2 separate regions of the Homo sapiens genome follow, and region 1 is linked to region 2. Evidence: promoter capture Hi-C in 16 types of primary human blood cells and fetal thymus (Javierre and others, 2016). All regions are on one chromosome and are shown on one strand. Each heading gives the region's core, a stretch centred on a gene start or on the middle of the fragment in contact. The rest is flanking DNA. Distances are from core to core; before and after follow the strand shown.

Evidence for each region. The method cuts DNA at HindIII sites, captures the fragments that hold promoters and counts their contacts. A CHiCAGO score of 5 or more calls a contact.
Region 1: a fragment that was not itself captured here is called in contact with the fragment with the promoter of C2CD2 in region 2 in 10 of 17 cell types (M1 macrophages, M0 macrophages, M2 macrophages and 7 more); the score reaches 9.4 in M1 macrophages.

Annotation. Positions count from the first base shown.
Region 1 is chr21:42,123,319-42,127,456 of GRCh38, forward strand. UMODL1 (uromodulin like 1) reads left to right here. Exons shown (of 23, transcript NM_001004416.3): 18 at 3,027-3,172; 19 at 3,688-3,924. Among named protein-coding and RNA genes, the nearest start is that of UMODL1-AS1, 17 kb to the left of the region's middle. RefSeq lists enhancers at 1-107, 1,435-2,208, 2,209-2,980. The HindIII fragment of the contact is 185 bases long and covers 2,086-2,270 here.
Region 2 is chr21:41,952,154-41,955,739 of GRCh38, forward strand. It overlaps C2CD2 (C2 calcium dependent domain containing 2), which reads right to left and starts at 1,865. Exons shown (of 14, transcript NM_015500.2): 1 at 1,217-1,865. The coding sequence starts at 1,495. RefSeq lists an enhancer at 837-1,611 and a silencer at 1,488-2,157. The HindIII fragment of the contact is 8,952 bases long and covers 136-3,586 here.

The sequences.
Region 1 (4,138 bases), core at 928-3,427, 170 kb after region 2:
AGAATCGGAAGGGAGCTGTGAGTCCACCCAGGAGGGACTCTGGTGCAGAGTGCTGGGGCAGGCTTCAGAGTCACGGCTTAAAACTCCTCCCTGCACAGACAGGATGAGAGGCAGTGGGACAGGAAGAGGCAGGAAAGCCAAGGAGTCCTGTGTGATATGAGAGTGTGTGTGTGTGAGTGTACGTGTGTGCATGTGTGCATGTGTCTGAATATGTCTGTGTATGTGGGGGTGTGCATGTGTGTGAATGTGTGTAAATGTGTGAATCTGTGTGTGCGAATGTGTATGTGTATATGCATGGCTGTGCTTATATGTACGTGCGTGTGTGTGTGCATGTGTATCGCGTGCTTGTGTGCGTGTGGGTGTGCATGCATGTATGAATGTGTGAGTGTGTGAATGTGAGAATGTGTCTATGTGCATGTGTGCATGTGTGCGTGAGTTGAGCATGTGTGGATGCGTTTGTCCATGTGTGAGTGTGTATGTATGGGTGTGTGTTTGGGGGGCATTGGATGGCATTAGTCAGAACTGCTCTGTCGGAGGGACTGTGTTCCTAGCGAACATTCTCTATTTCAGGGTCCTGGATGGGCTGTGGGGCTCCCGGGACAGAGGGAGCCCAGGTGGGGAAAGTGGGTTTTCCTGGCCTGAGGCCTTCGCACCTCTGTGTGCACAGATGGGCTCTGGCACCTCCCCTTGCAGGTGACTCTGGGCCAGTGCGTCCTGGGTCTACTCTGAGCCTCTAGTGTGTGGCACCCATGAGGTAGCTGACCTGGCTCCAGGTCCTGCTTCTTCCCAGGGTGCCTCTGTGTCACAGCGAACGCTCCCATGCAGGCCCTTGTTCGTCTCCAACCCCACTTGGCCACATGGAGCACAAAGGCTTCGTGTTCAGGGCCCTGCTTGGGGGACAAGAGGAGGGGAGAGCCAGCACCTTCCACCAGCTCAGCCTGGTACTGGACACAGGGGCCTGGGCCGCATGGGCCTGGGAGTGCAGGGTGGATCAGGGAAGCTGCCTGGAGGGGCCGGCGGCTTCAGAGGGAGCCCGTGCCGGCTCTGGGTTGGGGAAGTGGCCTTCTGGGAAGGGGCTCGACCTAGAAAGGAGGCCAGCGTCGTTCCAAGGGTGAGTGAGAGAGCTGTGAATGTATCCAAGGGCCATGCCGGGGGTGGCTAGATGAGGGAGGCTGGAAACCATGGCGGAGTTAAGAGTCTGTCCGAGTGGTTCTGGTCAGGTGGGCAGGGATGGAAGGGTGGACACTCATGGGCAGGGTGGGGTATGAGGCCTGGTGGGAAAGTGGGGCTGTGGATGGGGCTGAGCAGGGAGCAGTGCCTGGCCTAGGAGCCAGGGCCAGAAGGCTCTCCTAATGGGGACATTGTCCTCATCGGGAGCTAGGCAGGAATGGTGGTTCCTGGTCGTTGGCGGGAACTCTGGGCCCTGGGCTTCTGTCCCTCAGGACCTTTGAGCAGTCCAAGGCATTGCATTCTAAAAAAAGGGATTGGTTGGGGTGGTGCCCTGAAACCACCGTGGACCTGCTTGGCTGAGAGTTCTACATGCATGATGATGTTTAGTCCCTTAGCGACCGCATGGGTCAGGCATCATCATCCACGCTCTGCGGCTGAGCCCTGGGTGCTCGGCAGGGTCCATGGGAGTTCAGGGTCAAAGTCAACCTGACACCGAGAAGCAGCCCCGTCCCTGTGGCTCTGCCTCTTGAGGAGCCTTGAGGGGGTGCTGCTTCTGGTTGGGGGTCTGGACACACTCCTTAGTGGGGACAGGGCGGCCTCTGGCACTGGATGGGTCAAAGCTGTCAGATGAAACCCAGAGTCCTGGCATGGGGTGTCAATGTCTGGGAGCCGACAAAGTGGGAACCGGGTGGACGTCCTGAGCAGGAGGCTGGGACATGGACCTTGGGGCTGAGTAAGGAGCTAGCCCTGGGGAGCAGAGGCCAGAAAGCCCCAGGGGCTGAGGGATGAGGTGGGGAGGTGGGGCATAAGGTGATTCCATGGTGTGGAGCCTGCTTGGAGCCTGGAGCTGGGACTGAGGGTGGCCAGGAAGCTGAGGGATTCACGTGGACGCGTCGGAGGCCATTGCAGAGCACAAGCTTGCCTGGGAGGCACAGCTCACTCTGCCGAGCTCATTCCGCCCCCTCGGGGGCTCTTCAGATCCTCCCTGGGCTGAAGGAGTAACCTGCACTGTTTCAACAGCTACAAAACCTTCCTCACCCTTCAGCCCCTCAAATGGCACAACTTAAGCAGAACTGCCCAGAATTAGTTTTCTCCCTCAAAGCTTCTTAGACGGCCACCTGGAGGCCGAGCGTTGGCAGCAGGGGGGTGTCTGCAAGGGGGATGGGCGGTGATCAGTGGCTCCTGTGGCTTCTCGGCAGTTTCCCTGGTGAGGGAGGTCTGGGGTGAGAGGTGCATGTGGGCCGGGCCACAGCGGCATCCTCAAGCCTATGCAGGGCTCTTGCAGGGCTGCGGGGCCAAGTGGAGGGGCTGAGGGTGCAGGACAGCCTGCCTGGTGCTCAGATCGCCACCCACACAGCGGCAGCTCCAGTGGAGAGACAGCGCCTCCCAGGACTGGGGCCCTGGGCAGAGCCTGCAGCCGGCAGCTCCCTCTGTGTTTTTCTGAACCAGACCAATGCTTGGCTTGATTATTAAATGCAGCAGGGTTTGGGGCATGTTGAAAGAAAAGGGAATTTGTCTCTGATGACTCACCCAGTCCCTGAAATCCACAAGAGCTCTTGACGGTTTTTGACACTTGTCAAAAACTAAGTTTCCCAGAAAGACTTATTTGTGCAGCTGCCACGGAATCCCCACAGGTTCAGGTGCTGCCTCCTCTGGTCAATAGGGAATGAGCAGAGGCCGAGCCCTTAGGCTCTTAGGCAGTTTATGGTTGGGAGAATCGCCAGGATCTCGATGCTGCTGGGGAGAGGCTTTAGAGAAGAACCCCCATCCCCCCAGCACCTAGAGCCGTGGCCCACAGCAGGGCGTGGGGGGCCGGCTGGGGCCTGGGAGCTCCTCATGCTCCGCTTTGTGCTCAGAACATGACGAACACCGTGGTGAGGACCACGCTGAGGAACGACCTGTCCCAGGAGGGCATCATCCACCACCTGAAGATCCTGAGCCCCATCTACTGCGCCTTCCAGAATGACCTGCTGACATCCTCCGGCTTCACCCTGGAGTGGGGGTAAGGGAGAAATGCCCCGGCTGCCCCACAGCCACGTGCCTCCAGACCACCTGCGCTTTGAGAGTTCTTTAGGGTGTCAACCACTTAAGGACCCTTCCTTGAGATGGAATATACAAATGGGTGTGGCCTGGCTGCTCCCCAAATTTTGTTCCCTCTTCCCACTCAGGGCTAGCCAGAGAAGGCCAAATATGTCCCGTGGCCAATCCCATGGGATGGCCCCACTTCCAGTGAGCCACTGGCAGGCCGCCACCCAAGCCTCCATCAGGCACCACTTTTTCTATAATGGACCCCCCACCTTCCACTGAGTCTCCACCTATACAACTGAGGGAGGCAACCCCTGGACCAGCCAGCCCTGAATAAATGGCCTCCAAGTGCTCTCGTTTGGGGTTGAGGGGGTCTTCTCGTTCATTTGCACGTTCCTCTGGAGCTGTGTTTTAGGGGAGAAGTGGGAATGGGAGGGGCCACGATAATGCGCCTCCTGAAACATGCCTCCTGCAAGCTGCTTCCTCTTGCAGGGTTTACACCATCATCGAGGACCTCCACGGCGCTGGGAATTTTGTTACCGAAATGCAGTTGTTTATCGGAGACTCTCCCATACCTCAGAATTATAGCGTGTCTGCCAGTGACGATGTCAGGATCGAAGTGGGGCTCTACAGGCAGAAAAGCAACCTCAAGGTGGTCCTGACGGAGTGCTGGGCAACCCCGTCTAGCAACGCCCGGGACCCCATCACCTTCAGCTTCATTAACAACAGGTAGGGCTCAGGAGTGCAGGCACCCCCATCCAGCAATGCCTGGGGCTTTATTAACAATAGGTAGGGCTCAAGAATGCAGACATCCCCATCCAGCAATGCCCAGGGCTTCATTAACAATAGGTAGGGCTCAGGAGTGCAGGCACCCCTGTCCAGCAATGCCCAGGGCTTCATTAAGAACAGGTAGGGCTCAAGCAGGCACTGCCATTGCCTGGCC
Region 2 (3,586 bases), core at 615-3,114:
CTGGGCACCAGGACAAAAGTCAGTCAACTGACCCTGAAGCCTTTTTCCTCCAAAAAGTACAGTCATTTATGTTCTTTTTCAAGAGTTCAAAACAAGGTCTCTTGATTTGTTGGATGGCTGCTAACTGATAGTCAAAGCTTTTTTGTTTTTTAATTCCATGGCCATGTCTTCCAAGGCCATGCACAAGGACCAGGCACAGGGCCCGCCATGGAATATTTTGAAGGTTGATGGGGCCGGACATTGAAAATGAGCAATTCTGCTATTTCCACAGCGAATGACCACTGAGCTGCACAGGCATGTGCAGGAAACTGTGGCCTGGAAGGGCGGAGCAGCGGCCAAGACTAGGGGTGCCTCCCCAAACCCACCCAGGCTCCAACTTCTCCTGTGAAATGCCTAAGAATAGTACATGCCAGGAGCTTGTCGTTATACTAAGATGTCTTAAAAGCAAAAATAAGTCAACGAGTAATCAGCGACTACAGAAACACCCACAGGACTGTGAGGCAGCAGAGGTAAGACACGAGGCCCTTAGCTTGCAGGCCAGGGCAGCTGGATTCACATGCCAGCTCTGCCGCCCACGAGCTGTGTGGCACTGGGCAGGCTGCTTGCCCTCTCCGGGCCTTGGTTTCCTCATCTGTAAAACAGTGATAACACCCCTGTCCCGGGAGTTGTGAGGATTCAGAGATGGCAGACGCACCGAAAGCCTCGGTAGGATGTCTGCCCAGCGGCTGGCCCTCAGCAAACGGTCACTATTTTTATATGCCAAGAAATGCAAGTCTTTGGAGATAAATTCTTGGTGAAATTCAGCTCTATGAGAGGCGGAAGCACATTGGGGTCACAGCTATTCATGTATCATGTGCAAGCTCAGTAAGTGTCCGATCGGGCACGGGAATTCGCCCCGGGACTCCAGGCAAGGCAGGTACTGGCTGGCGCGGATGAGCACTTCTGACGGTCCCTCCAACTGCCAGCCTGTCCCTCGCGGAGCCCAGGGCCTGGAGCACCTGCCGTTTGGAGAATAAAATCAATCACTTTGTCTTGTCTCTCCGTCAAGGGGCCTCGCTCCCCCGTCTCTCTCCTAACTCTCGAGGATGGTCTGCGCTGGGGGGAGGACTCCCTTAGCCTGGGTCAGGGGCTGCAGCGACGCCTCCAGGAAAGACCTCGGCCCGGACCGCCCGCCCCGGCATCTGCCGCCCCCCGGCCCGCAGTCCCGGAAACTCACCCCTTTCCTCTCGGCCTCCTCGTTCAGGGCGGTCACCCAGGCCGCCTGCCACTGGCTCCTCCAGCTGCCCAGCGTCAGGATCCAGGAGAGCAGCGCGTCGGACCCCGGGCGCGGCCCCTCTCCAGGCTCCACCGCCCGCCGCTGGGGCTGGGGTCGCGCCCTGGCCAGCGCCCACTGCGCCAGGTACAGGCCTACCGTGGCCAGGGCCGCGACGAAGAGCGACACCAGCGCGAGCCACTGCGCCTCCCCGAGCCACGAGCCCAGCCGGGCCATGGCCATGGCGCATCCCCGGCCCGCCTCGCCCCAACTTCCCCGGCAGCCCCGGGCCGGAACGGCGGACTCAGGACACGCGCTGGCTGCGGCCACAGCGCGCTGGGGGCGTGGAGGGGGCGCGGCGGGGTCGGAGCCCGGCGAGGAGCGTGGCCGGGGGCCTCTGGGCGGGCAAGCGGGGAGGAAACGCGCGGCGGCCGCGGCCCGGGCTGGGCGCAAGCCCCGCACACCTGCGGAACAGGGGCGCGAGCGGACCCCGCGGCCCGCGCTCCCGACTCGGCGTCTGGGAAGTTCCTGGGCCGCTGCGGGCCGCGCTTCCTCCTGCGCGCGCCGCCCCGGGCGTCCCGCCCGCGGCCCAGCGGTGGCCGGAGGAGGCTCTGGCCGCGGGGCGGGGCGGGGCGGGGGCGGTGCCCGAGGGAGGGGGCGCGGCCGGGCCTGCGGGGGCCGCAGTCCTCCCCCCTGCTCCCAACGCGGCGTGCCCCCGCCCCCCTAAAGGCCCGGCCTTCCCGGCCCCGCCACGTGCGCGCGTCGCCCGCCCCTCCGGCGCCTGCCCGCGGGCCGCGAGGTGACCCGGGCCTCCGGATTCATCAGCCCAACCCCGGCGGCTGCTGTGCGGCTGCTTGGCTTGGCTCGTGTGCGCGCTTGCACAAGTGCGTGTGTGTGCACATGTGTGAGTGTGCGTGTGCACAGCGCGCAGTCAGGGTGATTTCGAGGACTGCCATTTGCTCGCCAGCGAGACAGGATCCAGGCTCAGTCCTCGGAAAGTCCCTGGAAATCCGTGGCTGCCCCTGGAGCCAGGGGCTGGGCCTGCCTTAGGGGGCGTGCTTCTCAGAGGCAAGGAGGGGCTCAGCACCAGGCCCAGGCCCTGCCTTCTGTGTGGCTGTGTCATTCATTCAGTGTGCGGGTGGGGCGGGGGTGCATGTGGTGTGATGTGTGTGGCGCATGTGGTGTGATGTGTTGTGGGTGTGGTGTGTGGTGCACAGGATGGTGTGAGTGTGTATGTGTGGTGCATGGGTGTGGTGTGTGTGTAAGCGTGGTGCATGTGGTGTGGTATGTGTGTTGCGTGCCAGTGTGGTGCATGTGGTGTGTGTGATGTGTAAGCGTGGTGCATGTGGTGTGGTGCGTGTGTGGTGTGTCGGTGTGGTGCATGGGTGTGTGTACGTGTGATGTGTAAGTGCACAGCATGTGGTGTATGTGTGTGGTGTGTGGTGCACAGGATGGTGCGAGTGTGTATGGTGGTGCATGGGTGTGTATGTGTGATGTATAAGTGCAGTGTGTGTGGTGTGTGTGTGTGGTGTGTGTGTGTGATGTGTAAGCGTGGTGCATGTGGTGTGGTGCGTGTGTGGTGTCGGTGTGGTGCATGGGTGTGTGTACGTGTGATGTGTAAGTGCACAGCATGTGGTGTGTGTGTGTGGTGCATGTGGTGTGTGTGGTGTGTATGTGTGATGTGGTGTGGTGTATGTATGTGGTGTGTCAGTGTGGTGCGTGTGTGTGTGGTGCACAGGGTGATGTGAGCGTGTGTGTGTGGCACATGGGTGTGGTGTGGTGCTGTGTGTATATGTATTGTGTAAGTGCGTTGCATGTGGTGTGGTTTGTGTGTGTGGTGAACACGGTGGTGTGTGTATGTGTGGTACATGGATGTGGAGTGTGTGTATGTGTAATGTGTGAGTGCGGTGCATGTGGCGTGGTGTGTGGGTGGTGTGTCAGTGTGGTGCATGTGGTATGGTGTGTGTGTGTGTGGTGTGGTGTGTGGGACATGCCCCTGTGCCCTCCTCTTGCAGAGTGGACGCGGTCCTTAGGGAGTGCCATAGAAACATACTAGCCTGAGATTCTCCGGGGCCTAAAACAGGCCTAAACCATAAAAAAGTGATTCCCCTGTTATTTTCTGCAGCTGTATTAAGGGGACTTGACCTTGAAAGGAATTAGATAGACTGAGCATTTGGCCTTCTCTTCCCTAGCCAGGAGTCTGCTGCGGGGCCAGTGGATGGTCCATCAGAGGGGATTCTGGCCCTGAATCCGTGGGCCCGGATTTTCTTCAGGAAAGAGGAAGGAATGGCACAGCAGCTGGACGGAGAGCCTTTGTGGGGAACAGGATAGGAC